Linked DNA regions of Homo sapiens: region 1 is linked to region 2. The links are contacts of gene promoters, found by promoter capture Hi-C in human tissues and cell types (Jung and others, 2019). All regions are on one chromosome and are shown on one strand. The core of a region is centred on a gene start or on the middle of the fragment in contact, and the rest is flanking DNA. Distances in the headings are between cores, read along the strand shown. Region 1 overlaps ZNF682 (zinc finger protein 682). Region 2 holds the start of ZNF90 (zinc finger protein 90).

Region 1 (7,059 bases), core at 4,386-6,885, 72 kb after region 2:
CAAGAATAGTGACCACTGCATTTTTTTGTTTGTTTTTTTCCCATTTGTGTGATAGATGTTACTTTTTCCCTTTACTTTGAGTTTATGGGTGTCATTATACGTGAGGTGAGTTTCTCGAAGTCAGCAGAAGGTTAAGTCTTGGTTTTTTTTAAATCTGATTTGCCACTTTGTGTCTTTTTTTTTAATTAAAAAAATTTTTTTTTCTTTTTTGAGACAGTCTCGCTCTGTTGGCAGGCTGGAGTGAAGTGGCACGATCTCGGCTTACTGCAACCTCTGCCTCCTGGATTCAAGCAATTCTCCTGCCTCAGCCTCCCTAGTAGCTGGGACTACACGTGCACACCACCACGTCCAGCTAATTTTTGTATTTTTATTAGAGACAGGGTTTCACCATGTTGACCAGGATGGTCTTGATCTCTTGACCTGGTGATCTGCCCGCCTCAGTCTCCCAAAGTGCTAGGATTACAGGGGTGAGCCACCGCACTGGCCAGTTTTTTAAATTTTTTAATATATTTTTTGAGACAGAGTCTCGATCTGTCACCCGGGCTGGAGTGCAGGCGCGATATCAGCTTACTGAAACCTCTGACTCCCAGGTTCAAGTGATTCTCCTGCCTCAGCCTCCCGAGTACCTGGGACTACAGGAATGTGCCACCACTCCTGGCTAATTTTTGTATTTTAGTAGAGACGGGGTTTCACCATGTTGGCTGGGCTGGTCTCAAACTCCTGACCTCAGGTGATCCACCTGCCTCAGCCTCCCAAAGCGCTGGGATTACAAGCATGAGCCACTGTGCCTGGCCACCACTTTGTGTCTTTTAAGTGGAGCATTTAGACTGCTGTGTTCAAGGTTAATATTGATATCTTAGTTTTTGTTCCCTTCATGCACTCTGTAGTCTTGATTGTACAGTTGCTTTGTAGGGTCTGTGGGCTATGTACTTATGTGTGTTTTTGTGGTAGTAGGTATCATTCTTCCATTTCCATATTTGGAACACTCTTAAGCACCTTGTGATGCCAGTCTAGTGGTAGTTAATTCACCTAGTGGTTGCTTGTCTGAGAAATATTTTATTCCTCCTTTGCTTATGAAACTTAGTTTGCTGGAACATAAAATTCCTGATTGGAATTTCTTTTTTTTTTTTAATCTCTTTTTTTGTTGTTGTTGAGATGGAGTCTCGCTCTGTGGCCCAGCCTGGAGTGCAGTGGTGCAATCTCAGCTCACTGCAACCTCTGCCTCCAGGGCTCAAGCAATTCTCGTGCCTCAGCCTCCTGAGTAGCTAGGACTACAGGTGCACGCTACCATGCCAGGCTAATGTTTTGTATTTAATAGAGGCAGGCTTTCACCATGATGCCCAGGGTGGTCTTGAACTCCTGAACTCAGGTGATCTGCCCACCTTGGCCTCCCAAAAAGCTCGGATTACAGACGTGAGCCACTGCACCTGGCCTCTTTCTTTAAAAATGTTAAAAACAGGCCCCTAATATCTTCCAGATTGTAAGGTTTCTGTGGGGAGGTCCACTGTTTGATAGAATTCATTTTTTAGGTAATATGGCCCTTTTCTCTAGTTGCCTTTTATTTTTGTATTTCATGTTGACCTTGGAAAGTCTGAATACTATGTGCCTTGAGGATGGTTGTCTTGTATAGTATCTCAAAGGAGTTCCTTGAATTTCTTGTATCTCTGTGTCAACCTCTCTAGCAAGATGGGAAAATTTTTCGTAGATTATATCCTTACGTATGTTTTCCAAGTTGGTTACTTTTTTTCCTTCTCTCTCAGGAATACTAATGAGTCATAAGTTTGACCCCTTTACATAATTCCATATTTCTCAGAAGCTTTGTTTTTTTGTAGTGAATTCTTTTTTCTTTACTATCTTCTGACTGGGTTGATATAAAGGAGCAGTCTCTGAGCTCTGAAATACTTTCATCTGCTTAGTCTATTCTGTTTTTAAGGCTTTCAATTGTATTTTGAAAGTCCTGTAGTAAAATTTTCAACTTTTAAAGTTGTGTTTGGTTCTTTCAAAGGAACTAGTGAGATCCTTTTGAGGTAACGAAACACTCTGGCTTTCTGTATTGCCAGCTTTCTTTCGCTTTCACATCTGAGGGAGCTGGTGCTTCTTTTCCTTTTGAATTTTCTGTCATTTGGATGGGGTGTTAAAATTTTTTTATTTCTTTTTTTCCTTGAGGGTTTGGCTGTGGTGTATGTTGTGTATAATCAGTTGGTGTCATTTAAGGTTGTTTTCAGAGGGCAGAGGTTCTGTCTAGGTCCCTTGGTTGTAGATAAGTTCCTGCAGTGGATTTCATAGAGTGCTTCATGTTGAAGCAATGTATTCTTGTTTGGTGGTGTAATTCAGGCTTCAGTCCAAGTAGATGGCACTTAAGAGTGCTCTGGGGAGGGAAGATAGTGTGTGAGAGATTATTTTCTTTCCAAATTTATTTTGGGGCCTTGGTGATATTCCCTTCAACTGCTGGCACTGCACCCAATTCCTTTGCTCCAAGGAGGGCTTTGGTGGTCTGTGCTTACCCTTCCTTAGGGACAGTTCACACTTTTAGGTCACCAGGAGACCCATATTTATCAGGGGTCCTGCTGTTCTCCTTTGCTTGCAAAAGTAAGGATGGGTTATGGAATGTGTCTGTGAGTCGTTTGGTGATGCCATGGCTCGAGGATGGAACACCAGGCAGGGCAATTGCACCATGGGTTTGCAACCAGTATTGCACCTGCAGCCCAGGATTTTTAGTCCAGCAGGTAGTTGTGGGGCCCACCCAGCTTGTGGTCCCCCAACTCAGCAGGTCTGTCTCCAGTGTCTTCCCTGGGAGCAGGCTGAATTGGCTAGGCTTGTCCCAAGCCATCTGCATTGAAATTGCTGAGTTCTTCCAGATGTTCTATGCTGCTAGGCTTCCTGGGATGGAAACCATGACTGGTCATCTGGCCACACCCTTCCCAGTTTATTCATGTGAATGAAGGGGAACTCAGCTCCCATGCTGGCTCATGATCCCATGACTTCTCTGTGTGCTGACAGTGTGGGCTTCTACCCCACTTAAGCTCAGACCACATATATCAGCTTGATATTATCAGGCAGTGTGCTGAAGACCTGGGCAGTTGGCACTGGGCCCATGGATTTGTCCTCTGGCCCTTTGGGGTCAAGCACCATCTGTGATATAAGTGGATGCCATGCTGTGGGCACCCTTCTGCAGGACCAGCCAGGTAGGTCATCTTGGACGGTGCCAGCAGGCAAAGTGGTGCATGGATCAGATTCACCTCAGTCCCATGATAGCTACAACCTTGCTCTCTCTCAGCCTGGCAGACAGCAGCAGATGGATCCCCTCAGTGCAAGATGCAGAGCCTCGGAGGATGGGCACCTATGGTCAGCTACAGCTGCACAGCACAGTGAAAACTGCAGATTTCCACAAGAGTTTAAGCTGTGCCTCTGCCTATTCTCCAGGTGGCTCCCCCTGCCAGTTCACAGATGTATAGGGATCATATGAGAGTCTATAATCAGGAGCTCAGACTAGATTTAGCTGGGAAATGCCTTTCAAGGAGAAGGAACCAAAGTGAGAATCTCAGAGGTCCATGGCTAGACTGTGTTGCCCTGGGGTTTCTTCACATATCCCTTCCATAAGACTGGTCTGGATCTACGAGCCAGTCCTGGTGCCCAGTGACTTTGAGCAAGCTTCCCATCTTCCTCTTCAACCACAGTTTCTGCATTACCTCTGAATTAAGCTTTTTCTCAAAAGATCTGTTTAAAGTATGATGTTTTACTCAACATTTTGTTTTCTCTCCTTGGAGTGAGTGTTTCCCAGCTGCATCTAGTAAGTCATCCTGTCCTTTTCTTAATTTTCTGTATTAGATTTGTAAAGTATATGTATCTGAGTCTGAAAATAACAAGTGGGATATTTTGTTAATTTCATATTTCAGCTATGTCTTCTCATTACACTGAAGACCTTTTGCCAGAACAGTGCATGCAAGATTCATTCCAAAAAGTGATACTGAGAAGATATGGAAGCTGTGGACTTGAGGATTTACACTTAAGGAAGGATGGGGAAAATGTGGGTGAGTGTAAGGATCAAAAAGAAATTTATAATGGACTTAACCAATGTTTGTCAACTCTACCTAGCAAAATTTTCCCATATAATAAATGTGTGAAAGTCTTTAGTAAATCATCAAATCTAAATAGAGAAAACATAAGACATACTACAGAGAAACTTTTCAAATGTATGCAATGTGGCAAAGTCTTTAAATCTCACTCAGGCCTTTCTTATCATAAGATAATTCACACTGAAGAGAAACTCTGCATATGTGAGGAATGTGGCAAAACCTTTAAGTGGTTCTCATACCTTACTAAACATAAGAGAATTCACACTGGAGAGAAACCATACAAATGTGAAGAATGTGGCAAAGCTTTTAACTGGTGCTCGAGTCTTACTAAACATAAGAGAATCCATACTGGTGAGAAACCCTACAAATGTGAAGAATGTGGAAAAGCCTTTCACTGGTGTTCACCCTTTGTTAGACATAAGAAAATTCATACAGGAGAAAAACCCTATACATGTGAAGACTGTGGCAGAGCGTTTAACCGGCACTCACATCTCACCAAACATAAGACAATTCACACTGGAAAGAAACCCTACAAATGTAAAGAATGTGGGAAAGCCTTTAACCACTGCTCACTACTTACTATACATGAGAGAACCCATACGGGAGAGAAACCCTATAAATGTGAAGAATGTGGCAAAGCTTTTAACTCATCATCAATTCTTACTGAACATAAGGTAATTCATAGCGGAGAGAAACCCTACAAATGTGAAAAATGTGACAAAGTCTTTAAGAGGTTCTCATACCTTACTAAACACAAGAGAATTCACACTGGAGAGAAACCCTACAAATGTGAAGAATGTGGCAAAGCTTTTAACTGGTCCTCAATCCTTACTGAACATAAGAGAATTCATACTGGAGAGAAACCCTACAACTGTGAAGAATGTGGAAAAGCCTTTAATCGGTGCTCACACCTTACTAGACATAAGAAAATTCATACTGCCGTCAAACGCTATAAATGTGAAGAATGTGGCAAAGCTTTTAAACGGTGCTCACATCTTAATGAACATAAGAGAGTTCAAAGAGGAGAGAAATCCTGCAAGTATAAAAAATGTGGGGAAGCTTTTAATCACTGCTCAAACCTTACTACGTAAGAATTTTTACTAAAGAGAAATCCTACAAATGTAAAGAATGTGGCAAATTCCATAAATCTTGCTCAAGGCATTGAAATCACAAGATAATTCATACTGGAGAGAAACACTACAAATGTGAAGAATGTGGGGAAAGTCTTCAACCATTGCTGACAGCTTATTGCACAGAAGAAAATTCATGCTGAGAAAAATTCTGATTTTAAAGAATGTGGCAAAGCATTTAATAACTACTATGAACTTACTCATCAGAGGTTTTGTGCTAGATAAAAGCAATGTAAGTGTAATGATACACATTACATTTATCTGTGGAAAGATGTCACCAAATAAAAGCCTTAGAGTACACAAGGTGTAATGATAGTGATACATTACATTTGTACATGGAAAGACTTCAAAAATATAAGCCTTAGAGTACACAAGAGTTTTTATACTGAAGAAAAACATTACAAATATAAAGATTGTTGCAATACTTTTACTTATGTTACAGATTTTGTTGTACATAGGAGAATTTATACTGAAAGGTAACCCTCTAACAGTTGCTCAAATTTTATTCCATTTTAGATAATTTACATTGGAAAGAAACCCTACAACTGTAATGAATATGAAAAAAATTGTTTAAAAAGTACACCTTAGAAAACACTAGTTTAAGGCCGGGCGCGGTGGCTCACACTTATAATCCCAGCACTTTGGGAGGCCGAGGCAGGCGGATCACGAGGTCAGGAGATCGAGACCACGATGAAACCCTGTCTCTACTAAAAATACAAAAAATTAGCTGGGCATGTTGTCGGGTGCCTGTAGTCCCAGCTACTGGGAGAGGCTGAGGCAGGAGAATGGCGTGAACCCGAGAGGCGGAGCTTGCAGTGAGCCGAGATCGCGCCACTGAACTCCAACCTGGGCGACAGAGACTCTGTCTCAAAAAAAAAGAAAGAACGCTAGTTTATATGAAAGCATTTAACAGATGCAGTAAATATAAAAAATTAATAAAAAATTAAGTCTAAATGAACATCAGAAGATTCACAGTAGAAACCACTAAGACGCTAACACTTTCAATGTTATTCTAAATCAGGGCATTGATTATAAAGAGTAATTCAAGGTTAACATAATTTAGTTAGCCTAAACAGAAATAGGAGATTAATATTTTGAGACTTAAACAATTATATTCAAAGTACACTTTTTGCATTGAAAGAATTTTAGATTTTTACAAAGGCAAATTTTGATGTAATTGAACTCTCAAATTACTTGATGCTGTGTCTTTATTCCTAGTGTCTGTATGAAAGCATGTGGTCAATTTCTGCTGCTCGGGGTTTGAGAAGTTCTATATTAGGATGTCATTTACATACTTTTCAACAGAAGATTGAGGACACTGAAATATGAGGTGTGTGAAGAAAGTACACAGAGAAACTTTTGTGGTTGACTTATAAAACTTGTAAGTGCTGCATGAGATAGATGTTCAGAGTAATAGTCTTGTGCATTATTCAAATTTTAGTAAATTGTTTTACCAATTGCACATTAGATAGTATAGTGGATTTTGTAATGCTTTTCTTAGACTGTGTGAACTTAGTTTCAATAAAACAATTATTTTTAATGTGTTAAGACAGTTGTGCATTGAATTAGGTGTTATCCTGCCACCAACATTAACCTATTTTACCTTACTCAAGTCTCTAGGTAACAGACGGTAACAACATACTATTCAGTAATATAGTGGAATGGCATCTCTAGTGATTCTTATCCTTAGTGACTTTAAACTTCAAATACGTTGGAGAATATTGTTTCCATAGGTTACATTTTTATTATTTTTCTTCTAATTATAGAGTCATTAAGATGATTATTATGAAAATTACACAGGCATATAATCAAAAGCCATATATTTCTGAATCTTAAGTGAGTATGTAGAAGAT
Region 2 (7,290 bases), core at 29-2,528:
TAGCTCGGAATCACTAGGTTCAAGCTTTAATTTCCATGCCAGAGTTATTCACTGGGTTTTTGAAACTAAGTGTTGGAAAATACAGTGAAGTTACTAAAACACAGTGTTTACATAAAGGATGGAAATTTTAAGATGCTTACTTTTTTTTTTTTTTTTTTTTTTGAGGACTCTCCCTCTGTCGCGCATGCTGGAGCGCGATGGAGGGATCTCAGCTCACTGCAACCTCTGCCTCCCGAGTTCAAGCAATTCTCGGGCCTCAGCCTCCCAAGTTGCTGGGATTACAGGCGCTTGGCACCACTCCAGGCTAATTTTTGTATTTTTAGTAGAGAGAGGTTTCACCACGTTGGATAGGCTGGTCTAGAAATTTGACCACGTGATCCGCCCGCCTCGGCGCCCCAAAGTGCTGAAATTACAGGCAGGAGCCACCGCGCCTGGCCGGGAAGGGGTTATTAGCCCTAATGCAGTTCTGTTTTTGTTTTCCCTCCATTGGCTGGGGTCAGACCGCACAATCTAAGCTGATCCCGGTTGGCTTACACTCAAGCTTTTTCCAAATCGGGTAATGCGCGATTTGTGAGAAAAGGAGAAGGGAGAAGAAGGGGTAGGGGTGATTTACAACTTTTCCAACTTATGACCAGGAAGTTGCGTCTTTGAAGAAGAACTACGTTGTACTAACAACCCTTTACCTCAAGTGATCCGCTCGCCTCGACCTCCCAAAATGCTGGGATTACAGGCATGAACCACAGCGACCGGCCCCATAAGTTTTTAATAGGAGAAAAGAGAAACTGTCAACCCCATGGACCAAAGCTCTTCCCATTCATGAACCTGCACCCCGAGTCAGGATTCTCCCCCGAGAACCCTCCCGTGCTCCCTGCACAATCTGGGAGAGACGCAGCGCTGTGGGTGCAGAGCTGCCCAGAGAGGGCTCCAGGCCAGGGCAGGGAAGAGACAGGACGCCGCGGGGCCCGGCTGTCGGCGCTGTTGCCATCTTATGGCTGAAGGGGACTGAGGCCGAACTGGGCAAGGAGAAGTCGGTCGCAGATTGTGGAGCTGACTGCGGGGAGGCCTAAGTCCCGCCACAGCCACTTCCCATCGGTTCCAACCAGTCCCTCCCCTCTCTCGGAATGCTGGAAAGGCACTCTCACCATTTCTAGGCTTCCGGGGGTCCCTCAGCTGTGGATCTCCCAATACCTGCAGGTCACAGGGCCACAGAGGCTGGAGAAGAAGACACGAAGCAGCTAAGACCAGATTTGGAGCACCAGCTGCAGCAAGAGACAAATGGCCGCGCCAAACCCGAAAGCCTTCCTCTTCGCTCCAGCTGCCTGCATGATTGGACGGTTTCCAACCCAGCGTCCCTGATTGGATAATGCTTAAGGCCCCGCCTCCTCAGTCCCTGAGTGACAGAAGATGTGATCACATGCTGGGCTGAGTGAAGAAAGAGTCACAGCCTCAGCTGCAGCCTTTTCAGGCCGGGCTTCCTCCTTGAGCTGAGCCAGGCCCACCGGAGAGCATGGGAAAATTCTTTTTTACTCTTTCTCTTTTTGAATGTATTCAAAAGGTGAACAGAAGTATTTGGCTGTCATATTAATAATACAAAAAATTTTTGTTCAAGAGAAAACTTTTACTTTGGTAATAGTGTATTATCAATACGAAAGCTAATTTTAATAAAACCTTGTAAGTAAATCAAATTTGTCATTTTTGACCTCTCGAGACTTACATATACATCATATATATTTTGTAATCTAATGTAATTTTTTTAACTTTTTATATTTTATTTTTATCTACATTCTTTTTATTTTTTCAATTTGAAACAACTTTTAAGTAATTTCAAACTGTTATAGGAGACAGAAAGGAAATCATTTAGGGCCAGGCGCGGTGGCTCACGCCTGTAATTCCAGCACTTTGGGAAGCCAAAGAGGGCGAATCACTTGAGGTCAGGAGTTCAAGACCACCCTGGCCAACACGGTGAAACCCCATTTCTACTAAAAATACAAAACCTTACCTGGGCGTGCTGGTGCACACCTGTAGTCCCAGCTACACCGAAGGCTGAGGCAGGAGAATCTCTTGAACCTAGGAGGTGGAGGTTGTGTAACCGCCCAAGGAGTTTACCTTGCCCTTTGCCCAGACAAAACCAATTCATCAAGACAGGGGAATTTGTGGAGGAAAAGTTAAATATTTAATTTGAACTCAATTGAACGTGGACACAAACAATGGTCACCAAGTCCTGGAAGAGGTTGTGTGAGCCCCTTGAGGCGTTCATCCAGTGCTATTTTAGAGAAATCTCTATGTCAATCTATTCAATCTATTCCTATACATTCGTTATTGAAAAACAATAGACAAGGCCGGGCGCGGTGGCTCACGCCTGTAATCTCAGCACTTTGGGAGGCTGAGGCGGGCGGGTCACGAGGTCAGGAGATCAAGACCATGCTGGCTAACACGCTGAAACCCCGTCTCTACTAGAAATACAAAAAATTAGCCAGGCCTGGTGGCAGGCGCCTGTAGTCCCAGCTAGTCGGGAAGCTGAGGCAGGAGAATGGTGTGAACCTGGGAGGCGGAACTTGGAGTGAGCCGAGATCGCGCCACTGCACTCCAGCCTGGGCGACAGAGCGAGACTCCGTCTCAAAAAAAAAAAAAAAAAAGAAAGAAAGAAAAAGAAAAACAATAGACAATCACAAAAACAAGTTGACCTTTCTGTGTTCCTTGAGACCAGTCATGAAGGGCCCTGGTGACTAGGCCTCATGCTGAACAACTCGTTACAAAAAGAGCTAGGTTCCCAGACCGCGCAGAAGCGTCATTATACCTCTCCTGGTCTGTGCACCGATGGGTGGCCAACTCTGGAGCCCATCCTGTTGCTTTCCGGTCTGGTGGTGAATCCTCCATAGTCTGGTGTGGAGTCAAAGTTAAATAATAAATTTGTGCTAATTGAACGTGGACACAAACAATGGTCACCAAGTCCGGGAACAGGTTGTGTGAGCCCCTAGAGGCGTTCATCCAGCGCTGTTTCAGAGAAATCTGTATTTCAATCTATTCCTATACATTCGTTCTTGAAAAACAACAGACAATCCCAAAAACAAGTGACCTTTTTGTGTTTCTTCAGCTCAGTCGCGAAGGGTCCTCATGACTAAGCCTCGTGCCAAACAACTCATTACAAAAGAGCTAGGGTCCCAGACTGCGCCAAAGCTTCGTGACAGCTCTCCTCACCTGTGCACAATTGTTAGCTTGCTATTGGACTTTACTGGAAACAAAACACCTCTGCTTTAACCATGATGTCTTTATGAGGCCTAAATTTCCTGTTATGATTTAGGTCACGAGTTCCCTCAAAATCCACAGGAGGCCAAGATGTGTGGATCACGAGGTCAGAAGTTTGAGACCAGGCTGGCCAACATGATGAAACCCCATCTCTACTAAAAATACAAAAACTAGCCAGGTGTGGTGGCATGCATCTATAATCCCAGCTACTCAGGGGGCTGAGGCAGGAGAATCACTGGAATCCCAGGAGGCAGAGGTTGCAATGAGCTGAGGTCTCACCACTGCACTCCAGCCTATGTGACAGACTGAGACTCCATCTCAAAAACAAACAACCGAAAAACATAACCATTTCTGATGAAGAAAGGGGTGGGAGCAGCCAGTTAACTGAACTAGTAGACATCCTCTGAGCTCTTCGAAAGGAAGGAAGAAGGATTTGTCACTTGTATACCAACTCTTGCTCAGTAGCAAATGGTCTTACTACCTGGATGCCCCAATGACAACAAAACAAATGGTTAATTGGGAATAAAGAGGTATGGGGAAAACAATACTGGGAAGATACATGAATTCTGGTACACACTACCATTATCATTGTTTTCCTGTATTAATTAATTTATTTTTTTTGACACGGAGTCTAGCTCTGTCACCAGGCTGGAGTACAGTGGCTCAGTCTCGGGTCACCAGGCTTGAGTGCAGTGGCTGAGTCTCAGCTCACTGCAACCTCTGCCTCCCAGGTTCAAGTGATTCTCCTGCCTCAGCCTCCCGAGTAGCTGGGATTACAGGCATGCACCGCCACGCCCAGCTAATTTTTGTACTTCTCTAGTAGAGGCGGGGTTTCACTGTGTTCACCAGGGTGGTCTCAATCTCCTGACCTCGTGAACAACCCACCTCAGCCTCCCAAATTGGTAGAAGTACAGGCTTGGGCCACCACTCCTGGATCTGTTTTCCATGATGATGCTCATGCATCTCTGCTTTTCTTGACAGACTATTTAATCAGCAGGAAGATCGACAGGCCAAAATTTCCACCATAAATGCAAATTTGAATGTGGATGAATGGATTACAATGTGTTCAAGCCTTGCAATGAGAGGCATTATAGTGTTTGGTGGTATAATTGATGGTGATTACTGGGGAGAGTTAAAGGTTGTTTTATACAATACCACTCCAGATTCTTTTGCTATAAAACCACAAATGTGGGTTGCTCAATTATTAGTGGTACCTTGTCAACAATTAACCCCTGAGGAAATCTCTGTCCCAACAGAGGCTACATACAGAACTCGGGGATTCAGATCCACTGGTTCATGTAGCTTAAATCCTGGAGCCAATATATGGGTACAGCATCCATCAGATCCCACCCCTAAGTCTGGTGACCTTGTAGCTGTGAAAACAGAAAATGAAGGCATAGTACAATTTCCTAAAGATGAAAAACAATATGATGTTCCTATCCTTTTTTGTTATTACAGGGAATAATCTATCTACTAATGGTCAGCACCTGTGTCTTTGTGTCTGAGGCCAAGAATAAATTCATGAACTGGGTAGCCACCGCTGCAATAGAAGCCAATCACAGACAATGTTTTCTATACGTCGAGTTGCCAAAGGCCGCCAGGAATGGGCTACCTTGGAGAATCATCCTGACAACATTTCTGAATGGCTATGTAGTTACCAACGGGGTCACAACAACACTTGTAGTCCAACCTGTACTTCCTTTGACCACACTAAGCAATCTATCTTTGCCCAAGTCAGACAAAAGGTGAACTCCACATTCTCCTTTCATCAAAAGCCTTGGTATCCTGCCCAATATTCCTGGAATGGTATATTTTGGAAACCAGCTGTGCTGGTGCCTGGATTCCCTATAGCCCCCGCTTAGTCTGGAGGCCTTAAAAGGTTCCTCTAATATTACTCTGGGGTTTCTCCAGACAATTGTCAACACATACTCCAAATCAACATTGCCCCCAGTGAACCACAATCTCTTTCCTACTTTAATAATACATGAGTACACTGTGATTACAGTAGCTCCATTGCTGTCCCCTGGGGGAGCCCTCTGGGTATGCAGATCCTATGAGTGGTGATACCTGTCCCCACACTGGACAGGGAGATGAACTTGGGGATAGCCATTAATTCCATTCACCATCCGGGTTAATATTCCTCTCCCAAGTAATTTAGATACTTACAAACATCACTGGTTATGAATGTGCCAGCCTCCCTGGCCTCCCTGGTGGCAGTACCCTATCACAGTATTCTCCCCTGCCACTGGTACAATCCTGCTTCAGCAACAAACTAAAATATTAAGGTTATATGTAGAAAAAGCTCTTAATGATATTAGCACTAGACTTATGTTGTTACCAGATAAATTTGCTCAGCTGAGTACTGTTGTGTTGCAAAATCAAATGGCATTAGATATGCTTACCGCAGCCCAAGGAGGGATTTGTGCCATATTGCATGCTAAATGTGGTGTGTATATCCCTGGCAATTCTCACAATATGACTCTCCTTAGAAAGCCATGCTGGGTGTGGTTTTTATTAATTGTGCTTTTAATTCTCCTGTCCTTACCCTGTATCTGTAATCTATATCGACTATGCCTTCCCTATGTATCTGTAAGGGTATTTTCCTACAATTGAGTATCCAATTGAGGCCAAAGGTGGAGAAAAAGTTAAATTTGAATTGAATTGAATGTGGACACAAACGATGGTCACCAAGCCTGAGAATAGGTTCTGCGAGCCCCTTGATGCATTCATCTAGAGTTGTTTCAGAGAAATCTCGATTTCAATCTATTCCTTTATATTGTTATTGAAAAACAATAGCCAATTGCAAAAACAAGTTAACTTTTTGTGTTCCTTGAGCCCAGTCTCAAGGGCCCTCCACTGTGCCTCATGCCAAACAACTTGTTACAAAATGACCTAGAGCCCCAGAACGCACTAAAGCTTAAAGAGACCTCTCCTTGTCCTTGCATGGATGGGTGGCTGACTCTGGAGCCCAGGTTGTTGCATTCCGGTGTGGCGATGAATCCTCCATAGTCTGGTGAGTGTATATATATGTACATATATTTATGTGTGTATGTATATATATATTTATATGTGTGTATATATATATATTTATGTGTGTGTGTGTGTATATATATATATCTTTTTCCTTCTCCCCTTTCCATTGCAATTTTCTTATATCAATTTACTTGGCCGGGCGCGGTGGCTCACGCTTGTAATCCCAGCACTTTGGGAGGCCAACGCGGTCGGATCAGGAGGTCAGGAGATCGAGACCACGGTGAAACCCCGTCTCTACTAAAAATACAAAAAATCAGCCGGGCATGGTGGCACGTGCCTGTGGTCCCAGCTACTCAGAACGTTGAGGCAGGAGAATGGCGTGAACCCGGGAGGTGGAGCTTGCAGTGAGCCGAGATCGCGCCACTGCACTCCAGCCTGGGTGACAGAGTGAGACTCCGTCTCAAAAAAAAAAAAAAAATTTACTTATATCTGCATTGCCATTTATGTGGGATAAAGCTTGTTTACCCTTAAAGGTATTGTGTAGGTGTCTTTTCTTCTACCCTCATGTGTTTCCTTCACAGAACACCATATTTGTCAGAGGCTTTCTTTGTTCCTTTTTATTCTTTTTTCTTTAATCTTGTCTGCATGCCTTATTTTGACAAGGTGGTCTTCAAATACTGATATTCTTTCTTCTGCTTGGTCAGTTCGGCTACTGATACTTTTGTATGCTTCATGAAGTTCTCGTGCTGTGTTTTTCAGCTCCATCAGATCATTTATGTTCCTCTCCAAACTTGTTATTATAGTTAGCAGTTCCTCTAACCTTTTTTTTTTTTTTTTTTTTTGAGACGGAGTCTTGCTCTTTCGCCCAGTCTGGAGTGCAGTGGCGTGATCTCAGCTCACTGCAAGCTCCGCCTCCCGGGTTCACGCCATTCTCCTGCCTCTGCCTCCCGAGTAGCTGGGACTACAGGCTCCCGCCACCATGCCTGGCTAATTTTTTTTGTATTTTTTAGTAGTGACGGGGTTTCACCTTGTTAGCCAGGATGGTCTCCATCTCCTGACCTCGTGATCCGC

What was found. Contacts are between HindIII fragments. The study calls those that stand out against the background at their distance.
Region 1: a fragment that was not itself captured here is called in contact with the fragment with the promoter of ZNF90 in region 2 in 2 of the 25 tissues and cell types used here (hippocampus and mesendoderm cells).

The regions. Positions count from the first base shown.
Region 1 is chr19:20,004,113-20,011,171 of GRCh38, reverse strand. It overlaps ZNF682 (zinc finger protein 682), which reads left to right. Exons shown (of 4, transcript NM_033196.3): 4 at 3,897-6,754. The coding sequence ends at 5,167. It also overlaps the pseudogene BNIP3P12. Among named protein-coding and RNA genes, the nearest start is that of ZNF682, 32 kb to the left of the region's middle. The HindIII fragment of the contact is 3,190 bases long and covers 4,041-7,059 here.
Region 2 is chr19:20,071,988-20,079,277 of GRCh38, reverse strand. It overlaps ZNF90 (zinc finger protein 90), which reads right to left and starts at 1,278. Exons shown (of 4, transcript NM_007138.2): 1 at 1,143-1,278. The coding sequence starts at 1,145. RefSeq lists an enhancer at 856-1,335. The HindIII fragment of the contact is 4,387 bases long and covers 284-4,670 here.